2 separate regions of the Homo sapiens genome follow, and region 1 is linked to region 2. The links are contacts of gene promoters, found by promoter capture Hi-C in human tissues and cell types (Jung and others, 2019). All regions are on one chromosome and are shown on one strand. The core of a region is centred on a gene start or on the middle of the fragment in contact, and the rest is flanking DNA. Distances in the headings are between cores, read along the strand shown.

Evidence for each region. The method cuts DNA at HindIII sites, captures the fragments that hold promoters and counts their contacts. A contact is called where the count stands out against the background at its distance.
Region 1: a contact is called between a fragment that was not itself captured here and the fragment with the promoter of CA4 in region 2, in 2 of the 25 tissues and cell types used here (H1 embryonic stem cells and aorta).

Annotation. Positions count from the first base shown.
Region 1 is chr17:60,198,160-60,203,840 of GRCh38, reverse strand. It overlaps USP32 (ubiquitin specific peptidase 32), which reads left to right. Exons shown (of 34, transcript NM_032582.4): 27 at 5,397-5,581. Among named protein-coding and RNA genes, the nearest start is that of CA4, 51 kb to the right of the region's middle. The HindIII fragment of the contact is 3,210 bases long and covers 1,158-4,367 here.
Region 2 is chr17:60,147,354-60,152,800 of GRCh38, reverse strand. It overlaps CA4 (carbonic anhydrase 4), which reads right to left and starts at 2,828. Exons shown (of 8, transcript NM_000717.5): 1 at 2,709-2,828. The coding sequence starts at 2,766. The HindIII fragment of the contact is 35,208 bases long and covers 1-5,447 here.

The sequences.
Region 1 (5,681 bases), core at 1,513-4,012, 51 kb before region 2:
CACTTTGGGAGGCCGAAGCGGGTGGATCGTGAGGTCAGGAGTTCGAGACCAGCCTGGCCAAGATGGTGAAACCCCGTCTCTATTAAAAATACAACAATCAGCCAGGCATGGTGGCACACGCCGGTAGTCCTAGCTACTCAGGAGGCTGAGGCAGGAGAATCGCTTGAACCTGGGAGGCGGAGGTTGCAGTGAGCCGAGATCGTGCCATTGCACTCCAGCCTGGGCGACAAGAGCAAAACTCCGTCTTAAATAAATAAATAAATAAAATAAAGGAAAGCAAGGCTTCTAGATCAAGTAAATTGATTGTATAGCAGCAACAAGAGAAAACGAAATTGTAAAAAAGGTACTGTATTGGTTTCTTAGGACTGTTATAACAAATTACCACAAATTTGGTGGCTTTAAACAACAGAAATATATTCTTTTTTTTTTTTTTTTTTTTTTTTTGACAGTCTCGCTCTGTCGCCCAGGCTGGAGTGCAGTGGCGTGATCTCCACTCACTGCAGCCTCCGCCTCCTGGGTTCAAGCAATTCTCCTGCCTCAGCCTCCCAAGTAGCTGATACTACAGGTGCACGCCACCATGCCTGGCTAATTTTTGTATTTTTAGTAGAGATGGGGTTTCACCATGTTGGCCAGGATGGTCTTGATCTGACCTCGTGATCTGCCTGCCTCGGCCTCCCAAAGTGCTGGGTTTACAGGTATGAGCCACTGCACCCGGCCCAGAAATTTATTCTTTCACCTTCTGGAGGCCAGAAGTCTGAAACTAAGGTTTCTGTAGGGTGGGGGCTTCCTCCAAAGGTTCTAGGAGAGAATGCTTTCTTGTCTCTTCTAACCTCTGGTGGCTCCAGGCATTCTTTGGCTTGTGACTGCATAACTGCAATCCCTGCCTCTTCATATAGCCTTCTCCTTCTCTCTGTCTTTCTCTGATAAGGATACTTATTGAATTTAGGGCCCACCCAGACAATCCAGGATGATCTCATCTTGACATCCTCAACTTAATTACATCTACAAACATCCTTTTACCAAATTAGGTCACATTTACTGGTTCCAGGGGTTAGAACATGGATATATGGATATACTGTTTTAGAGGCCACCATTCAACTCAACTACAGATATTATTTATCTTAGTATCAAAAAAATTAAATGCTGAGAAAAAATTAAGTACCTAGGAATAAACTTTAAAAATGACACATAAGACATCTATATAGAAAATAAAATATTGATAGAAATTAAAGAAGACTGAAATATTGGAAGGAGTAAACCATGTTCATGGATTAGAAGACTCAATATTTTAAGATATCAGTTCTCTACAAACTAATCTACGGATGACTTAATGCACAATCCCAATACAAATGCAAAGTCTGCGTGTGTGTGTGTGTGTGTGTGTGTGTGTGTGTGTGATTTGATAAGCTGATTCTCATATGTGGAAATACAAAGCACCAGGAATAACCAAGATACTCTTGAAGAAGAGTAAGATATGAGGATATCATCAAGATTGGATATCATCCAGATATCAAGATTTATTTCACAAAGATATGATATTTAAAATAATGTCATATTGGTACAAGAAAAGACAAGTAGACCATTGGGATAGAATAGAGAGCCCAGAAACCAGTTCACAAATGTATGAACACCTGATTTATAACAAAGATAACATTGCAGAGTGGTGAGAGAAAGATAGTTTTCTCAGCAAGTGGTGCTGGGACAATTAGATATCCATATGAAACTTGGCACCTACCTTTCACCACAATTCCAGGTGTTCTATAGAGCTAAATTTGAAAGCAAAACAATGAAACAGCCCTTGGAAGATAATACTGGTAAATACATTCCTGACGCTACTCATATAAAAGAAAAGATTAAATTGGACTTCATTAAAATTGATAACTTGGCTGGGTGCGGTGGCTCACGCCTATAATCCCAGCACTTTGAGAGGCCGAGACGGATGGATCACAAGGTCAGGAGTTCAAGACCAGCCTGGCCAATATGGTGAAACTCCATCTCTACTAAAAATACAAAAATTAACTGGGCGTGATGGTGGGCACATGTAGTCCCAGCTACTCGGGAGGCTGAGGCAGGAGAATCACTTGAACCCCAGAGGCAGAGGTTGCAATGGGCCGAGATCATGCCATTGCATTCCAGCCTGGGCAACAGAGCGAGACTCCGTCTCAAAAAAAAAAAAAAAATGATCAACGACACTAGTAATCAGTGAAATGTAAATTAAAACAATATTATGATATCAGTGCACTCACCTGAACAGGTAAAATTAAACAGACTGACAGGGTTGCTAAGTAGAGCAACAGGAACTCTCATACCATGCTGATGAGAATATAAATTAACTTTATATTTAATTATAAATAATTTTAATTATAAATTAAATACTATAAACAACTACTTTGGAATACAATTTTCTAGTTAAAGATAAGCAGTTCTACCTGTAGGTATCCACCCAAGAGATATGTGTACCAGGAGATATGTACAAGAATATTCGTAGCACCATTATCTATAGTAGCCCCAAAATGAAAACATTGCATGTCCATTAGTTGTAGAAGGGATTGGGAAGCTGAGATATATTAAGATAATGGAACATTATACAGGAATGAAAATGAATGGATTTGTAGTTATATAGAGTATAAATGAATCTCGTAAACCTAATGTTGATGGAAAGAAGCCAAACACAAAAGAATTAGGCTAGGCACGGTGGCTCACACCTGTAATCTCAGCATTTTGGGAGGCTGAGGTGGGCCGATTGCTTGAGCCCAGGAGTTTAAGACCAGCCTGGGCAACATGGTGAAACCCCATCTCTACAGAAAATACAGAAATTAGCCAGCGTGTGCCACACACCTGTAGTCCCAGCTACTTGGGAGGCTGAGGCAAGAGAATCTCTCAAGCCCAGAAGGTGGAGGTTGCAGTGAGCTGAGATCACACCACTACGCTCCAGCCTGGATGACAGAGCTAGACCCTGTTTCAAAAAACAAAAAACAAACAAACAAAAATGAATTAAGTAATTCTATTTATAAATATAAAAACTTTTAAAACAGGGAAAATGAAATCTAGTGTTTATTTACTTGTGCATAGGATATAAAACTGTAAAGAAAAGCAAGAAAGTGATTACTGTAACATTTAGAATAATAGTTACCTTTGTGAGGAAGGGAGAATTTGTGATTTGGAGGAAGCAAATGGGAGGCTTTTGAGTGTTCGCTATATTCTGTTTCTTAAACTCAGTGATAATGGAAAGCTAGTTGCTTTGTGATAATTATTTGAAATGTACTTTTTTTTTTTTTTTGCAATGGAGTTTCACTCTTGTTGCCCAGGCTGGAGTGCAGTGGCAGGCCCTCAACTCACTGCAACCTCCGCCTCCTGTGTTCAAGTGATTCTCCTGCCTCAGCCTCCTGAGTAGCTGGGATTACAGGCATGCGGCACCACGCCTGGCTAATTTTGTATTTTTAGTAGAGACAGAGTTTCTCTATGTTGGTCAGGCTGTCTCGAACTCCCGACCTCAGGTGATCCACCCACCTTGGCCTCCCAAAGTGCTGGAATTACAGGTGTGAGCCACCACATCCAGCCAGAAATGTACCCTTTTACCTCTGATTTTTATTTTTCTCTGCATTAGTAGCCCTTGGCTTAAAATTTCTTTCTTTTTTTTTTGGTTGAGACAGAGTCTTGCTGTTGTCGGCCAGGCTGGAGTGCAATGGCACGATCTCGGCTCACTGTACTCTATGCCTCCTGCGTTCAAGTGATTCTCCTGCCTCAGCCTCCCGAGTAGCTGGGACTACAGGTGCCTGCCACCATGCCCAGATAATTTTTGTGTTTTTAGTAGAGACAGGGTTTCACCATATTGGCCAGGCTGGTCTCGAACTCCTGACCTCATGATCCGCCCGCCTCGGCCTCCTGAAGTGCTGGGATTACAGGCATGAGCCACTGCACCTGGCCCTGGCTTGAAGTTTCTAACCATGTTAATAACTAGGAGTAGAATTTATCTCAGTAGTAACTGAGAAAGTATGGGCCCTAGGGCACTAGGAGAAGTTCCTTAATGAGAGGATGAAAATTGTGTGGGTTTAGCTACGTTTTAAAATTTTATAAAATATTTGTACTGAACTCTGTCTGGATTTCTCTGGATCTTATAATAATAGTAACATATGAAATAGAGGCTTAAAATTATGTATTTAAGCTTAAATGAAAATGGCAAAATAAAATGCTTAATAATCTGAATAAAGGGTCTTTTTACTTAGAAACTAGCTAACTTAACCCCTAGTGAGTTGATAAGTTGTTGATTTAGCTTTTCTAACTACTCAATAAATACCAAACTTCTTAGGGAATTAAATGTTCAAAGGTTCAGCAGCTTTAGATAACCTTGAACTCCCACCAACCATTCCATTATACTAAATGTTTATTTAACAGCCATTTCCAGGATAATTCTGTGCAGTATCTCTATATTAAGGAATATCGTAAATATCTCTTTAACGTACTCAAAGCAAATTTTAAAAATTTTACCTTACTTTTATCCTATCCTGTATTTAAAAAACAAAAAAAAAGATTAAAATCACTTAACTGCTTTTAGGAAGGTGGATAAGCTTGTTATAAAATAGAATTACTAGGTTTCACAAATCTCCAAAACTTTGGAAATTGCCACTCCAACAACCACTATCAACAGCTTATCCCTAGAAAACTATAGTTGAGAGAGTCTTTTTTTTTTTTTTCCACTGGCATCTTTTCATTTCTTTTTTTTTTTGAGACAGGTCTCACTCTACCTTCCAGGCTGGAGTGCAGTGGCACGATCACAGCTCACTGTACCCTCAACTTGCCAGACTCAGGCAATCCTCCCACCTCAGCCTCCTGTATAGCTGGGACTACAGACACATGCCACCATGCCCAGCTAATTGTATTTATTTCTTTATAGAGATAGGGTCTCCCTACATTGCCCATTCTGATCTCAAACTCCTGGGCTCAAGGGATCCTCTTGCCTCAGCCTTCCAAAGTGCTGGGATTACAGGCGTGAGCCACCACACCCAGCTTACTGGCATATTTTCTGGAGAAAGAAAGAGCCTTAATTGTTTAAAAGCCCTTAGCTATGAAGCTATTACTAGTTTTTACATGTGAGTCAGTGTATGTGAGAAATGTTTATCAGAGAAAACTGGTTTGAATATATTAATTGCTGAAACCCAAATTTGATAGAATAGGCAACAACTCTAAAACTGGCAATACCTCAGCCCCTTTAATGACTCCACTGTAACCGTTCTCTTTGTGTCAATAAAGATGGTTTTATAAATACAGAGAAGAATGTGATAGTGACTGATTTGAAATGGTGATAGTGCCTGTCATTGGCAGGCATTTAGAAGAACTAAAGGGAGGAATCAGAGGCCTGTCTTCTGAACTCTCTATTCTCTTGTTTGTACATACAGATGAGGACAGAACTGTATTTCCTGTCATCTCAGAAGAATCGCCCCAGCCTCTTTGGAATGCCATTGATTGTTCCATGTACTGTGCATACCCGGAAGAAAGACCTATATGATGCGGTTTGGATTCAAGTATCCCGGTTAGCGAGCCCACTCCCACCTCAGGAAGCTAGTAATCATGCCCAGGATTGGTGAGTTCAGGGGATCCATCTAAACCTGTGGTTTCCAAACTCTAGAAAAATAATCTATATGAATTCTACATGACTGATAGGACCCAGCCTATGTCAAGTT
Region 2 (5,447 bases), core at 1,579-4,078:
AGTGCTGGTGACTAAGGAGATAATAAATCAGAGGGCATTTGCACCATGACAGTTCCTTGCCATAATCATCCCATGTCCCCACCCGCAGAGGTCTTGAAGGAGGAAGGGGTTTTGAAGATTGGGCTGGCCTCTTCTCTGACTGGAGGGCCCGGGGGCAGCCATTCCAGGAGAAGCCTCCCTTCAGCCAGCATCCCCAAGAGCCAGCTGCAAAGGGTGGAGCCCCCTGTAACTCGCCTCACAGCCTCCCTGGGGCCCATCTGGTCCAGGCTTAGCTTTTCTTAGGAATTTGGTCTTCCCTGGCTCTGGCCGCAGCTCCTAGGTTTGTAGTGGTGACCTGTGATCCACTGTCTTAATCATGGAGACTTTTGACCTGCTTGGCTGAACGCACTTGTAACTACCTTCTTCAGGAAGCAGCAGCCAGGAAAACATAATGGTGGTGAGGTCAAGGCCAGGGGTCAGGTCCATGTCGGTGGATGAGGGTGGGGTGCTGGTGGCAGGAGCACCCACCACTCAGGTTCCTGTCTTCGTTGAATGAGAGGGCCACCCTTGCAGGTAAGTACCAGCCCACTGACTCAGGCCACTCCCAAGAGGGCTTGGGAAGGAGAGGGGCTACCTACCCAGAGGTCTCGGTGTCCAGCGCCACATCCTACCTAGTCCATCCACCCTGACCAGAGGTTAGAGACCGAAAGTCAGTCGCCTGTCACCCAGCTACTGCCCCCCACACTGACTGACCTGCCACCCCTCCCCCTTATTTCAAGATGGCTGAAGAAGCCTCTCTAATGGACCTTGCTCACCCCACCTCCCCCTCTGAGGGACAGGGGATAATCCTGAAAAACAGCTCAGCACAACCCAAGTGTTTCCTGGGCAAAGTCTCAGTCGCTCCCGGCCAGGGGTCTGGGGCTCTGAAGGGGACCAAATATCCTCACCCGGCCTCTTGTCTCAATGGACAGAGATGCTCTGGGGGTCGCCATATGCAACCTGGTCCCTTCTCAGCTTGAGTCCTCCATAAGATGAATGGAAGGCAGGTCCCAGTCAGAAAGCCTTGGCACTAAAGGGGATAGCAGCTTGTGTGAGGGGTGAGCTGAGACACATTCCTGACACTGGCCCCAGGCTTGGGGGAGAGCCCCATAAACTTGGTATATGACACACCAGCCACGTGCCACACAGGCACCGCACTAATCACTTAAACCCATTATCTTATTCAAACGCTTAAAACCCCTGAAGTCAGAATGACAACACCTGTTTTGCAAATGGGACAGGAAGTGACTTACCCAAGACCACACAGCTACAAAGCACCAGAACTGCAAAGCATTTCTCTTTCTACTTTCTAGCTGCTTAGTAGGTTTCCAATGTCCAACCCTACAAATAAAAGTTTCCACATTCTGCTTTTTCTCTTTCTTCTCCCAGGGGCCCGGTGGAGAGGCTGCAAGGTGCCCCTCGACCCTCTAAGACAGCTCAGCCAGTCCCTGCTGCAAAGGGCACACGCTGGCTCCTCTCTGTGCAGAGGACACCTTCACCCCTCACTCCGCCGCTTTGAGGATGGAGCACCTAACTTGGGAGAGGAGGTTTCAGCCTGCGTGGACCCCAAGAACCATCCGAGGGGTGGTTGGGCTGAGAACTGGCAGAGGGGGTCTTCCGGTGATGGGGTCTGGGGTTGCAAAGAAGGTGCCTCCAGGATCGGATCCCTGTGCCCAGCCGCTTGAAGCGCCTTTAGCTTCTTATCAAATATTAACATGCCTTTCCTGCCACCTCCCACCTAGAGGAATAATTAAGAGCTCGGCTTCACCATTAATCTTTAAACGAAAATCACCCTGTCCGGAAAGACCGGCTCCGCAGAGGCCTTGGGGCTCCGGGTCCCCCACCCCCCGCCCCCGCCAGGCTCCCAATTCAGCGCTGGAGGTTAGGGAGGCCAGGGGAGCTTGCGACCCTCAGGGGCAAGGAACCCGTGTGGGAAGCGCGGCTTCCAGGACCCTGCCAGACCGCCCTTGCTCTGGCCGCGGGGCAGTCACCCAGCGCTGAGTCCCAGCGGGACGGACGGAAACCCACGGGCAGACGGAGGAGGCTGGGTGAGAAAAGAAGGCGTGCGTTGAGGCGGGTCCGAGAAGCATCCTTTTTTTTTTTTTTTTTTTTTTTTTTTTTTTTTTTTAAACGGAGCACCAGGCTGGAGTGCAGTGGCGTGATCTCACTGCAACCTCCACCTCCTGGGTTCAAGCGATTCTCGGGCCTCAGCCTCCCGAGTAGCTGGGATTACAGGCGTGTGCCACCACGTCCGGCTAATGTTTGTATTTTTGGTAGAGATGGGATTTCACCATGTTGGCCATGCTGGTCTCGAACTCCTGGGCTCAGGTGATCCACCCGCCTCTGCCTCCCAACGTGCTGGCATTTCAGGCTGGAGCACCCGCGCCCGGCCTGAGACGCATCCTTATCAGGGACTCCCAACTCGTCTCGCCGGGCCACGCGCACACACCCTCACCGCGCACACCCGTGCACACGCTCCCCCAGCCGGTGCTGACACGCGTGTGCACACACAAGCTCGCGCGCTGCCCAGTCCTCCCGCACCCTCGCGGCCCCCGGCGCACACGCAACCCGGGACCCCAGCGCCACCGACGCTCACCGGTCGCCCGCGGGGGGATCCTCTGCAGGGGCGGGAGCTGGGGGCACGGAGGGGACCGCCGAGGGGCACCTGGGGCCGGAGCCCGGGAGCTCACCTGCACTGGCCGATGGCCGCGCCGCGGAGAGGGCCAGGAGCGCCAGCAGCATCCGCATCTTGCGGGACAGCAAAGAGTCCTCTGAGCCGGGGGTCGCGCACCGAGGAGGCCGCCGCGGGTGCAGCGATCCTGCCGGCCTGGGTTTTATAGCGGAGCCGCGACGGGAGGGAGCCCCGACAGCTGGACGCGGGAGGCGGCTCCTCCCCCTGGCGGGGCCTGCCCTCCCCTCTCCACCTTCCCCTGTCCCTCATCTGAAATCCTCCGCTCTCCCCGGTCCCCCGCCCTGCCTGGCCACCTCTTGCCCTGTGCGCAAGGCCCCCTCACCCACTCCGCGTCCTCTCCACTCAGCAGCGGCGCCCTGCCCCTCCCCCATCCTACTCCTGGTCCCTGGTTTGGGAACAGGGACACGACACCACAAAGTGCTTGACCCACACAAAGATGAGTGCCCCATGATGACTTTGATCATTCTGGCGCCACCCCTGCGCAGTGGTCTTGAATGGGACCTTGGAATGGCCTTGGGGTGGGGGTGGGGGTGGGGGTGGAGATGGCCTCGAAGAGATGAGAGGCTGAGGGGCGTGTGATGCCGTTTGTTGAATCAGTGGCCGCAGAAAGGCTCTCCTATCTCTCTTTGGCAGTGGCCATTGATTCTCTGGGTCTCATCTCTTCTATTTCCTCCCAGGCTGCTCCAAACTTAATTTCTAAGCAGACCAAAGACCTTTCTTCGAATACAGAGCAAAGCTGTCCCTAAACTACTGCCCTTGCTGGTGTTTATGTGATGACCAGGGAGGGTTGATGGGGCAGAATTAAGAAATGGATTGTAAGAGGATTCGGTGAGGGAGAAGCTGATGGGGTCAAAGGGGAGGAGCTAGGTTCTTTGAGCCCCCCAGGTGGAGAGATGAGATGGGAAGAGAAGAGACTGGGGTCTGAATGGACCCCTGGTTCTCCCATCTGGCAAGACCTCCAGAGGAGTCCAGGGGAAGTTCCCTTAAGGGCGGCTCCAACATTTGGGGAAATGGGGTCCCCCCCATGCCCCCAAGCTGCCTCTTGTCTCCTCTCTTAGCTGTGCCCTCCTGCTACTGCAGGTCCTCTGTGTCCCACATGGGGTGGGGGCTTCTGTGGGAGTTTGGGAAGCTCAGGCTGGGGTGCGGGAGAGGGACGGGGAACCAGGCAGTGGACCTGGACCTCCTCCATCAATCCATCAACAGGAAGCCCCCTTTTTCTGGTTTAGCCACTCCCCATCCGCTGCCAACCTCTCAGTCCCTACCGACCTTCGAACCTGGGCTAGGGACTTCTGAAGGGGGATTGCCTCCCCCAGAAGGATTCAGGCAAAGATGCTTCCTCCTTGCTTAGGGTTGAGGCTGACTCCCCGCTCCTGGCCCAGGATCACACAGCCTCACAGAGCAGCTTTGATCCTACAGAGAGGCAGGAGGGAGGTGAGGGGGTGTCCATGCCAGGCTTAGGGCTCTATTGTCAACACCACTGTATAATGTAATCACCAGCCTGCGACCATGACAGCCACAGGAGGGATTCCACACCCAGAGCCTATTCTGGGGAGTGCATTTGTGTTCACAGGGCTATAAAAATGTCCCTTTCAGGACTGAGGAAGCCTGTTCCTGGGAATAAAAACCACCCCCAGGGAGTCCCTGTGACCTCTGGCCAGCCCCCTGATGAGCAGGGGAGAGGCTTGGGAAACTTTGGTGGGGTTAAGGGACTGTTGATCAATGATCCACTTTAAAGTTCATTGCATTCAGGCCCCCCAGGAGAGAGGGGGGCCCTGGGTGCATTTTGGGACCATAAAGATGGGTGAGGAGAACGAGTCCCTGGTAGGGCATCCCCTCTGAGGAATGCGGGAGGGGTAAAGCTATACACTCTCTTATGGGTGCATCTTAATTATGGGCACCACAGAGCCTGCACATTGGCGATGGGGTGGTGGACTGGTTCCTGCTCCATCTGCCATCTCTAACTTCAAGGTTACACAGGGTGAGTGGCCCTCTCTTCCTGTTCCTGGTCTTAACATTCTCAGCCTTATCTCCAGCCCTGACCCCAGTCCTGGCCTGCCATAAACCAGTCACCTGTCACTATTTAGACTACCTGGGGCCCTGCTTACCTGTAGGGGACAAGGCCTGATTTAGGGTCGTTAGAGCTGGAATGAGTGCTGACATGTCCCAGCGACTTACAGGGCCCATAAAGCTGCCAGCCCAGGCCACCTGAGTGGGAGAGCCCAGCCCAGCAGCCCCAGCCTCCTTCCTCTTACTCTGCAGAGGCCCCCAGTGTTCTGAGTTCAAGTCTTTGCTCTTCTTCTGACTCACGGATGACCTTGGGCAACTTTCCTGCACCCGGCTGATTGCAACTTCCTCATCTATAAACTGGAGATGGTAATCCCTGCCCGGCTGACCTCCACCAATAAACAGTTATTTGGAGTCTGCTGTGAACCAGGGCCTGCCCAGCCCAGACTCTCACAACCGGCCTCTCAGTGCCTGGGTGTAGCCACTGGCCCATGGCGGATGCAAAGATTAATCACACTCTTGTCCTCTGGGGATGTTTGCACGCATGGCCCTGTCAGGAACAGAAGGGAGGCCATGGGAAAGCTAAGGGGCTTTGAGACACATAACCCTGGAGTCACTTCTGGCTCCATCCACTTGCTCTGTGATGGCAGCTGAGCCTCAGTTTTCCTCATCTATGAAATGGAAATCATCCCCCAATCTCTCTCAAAGATTGCCCTGAGGCCTCAGTGAGCTA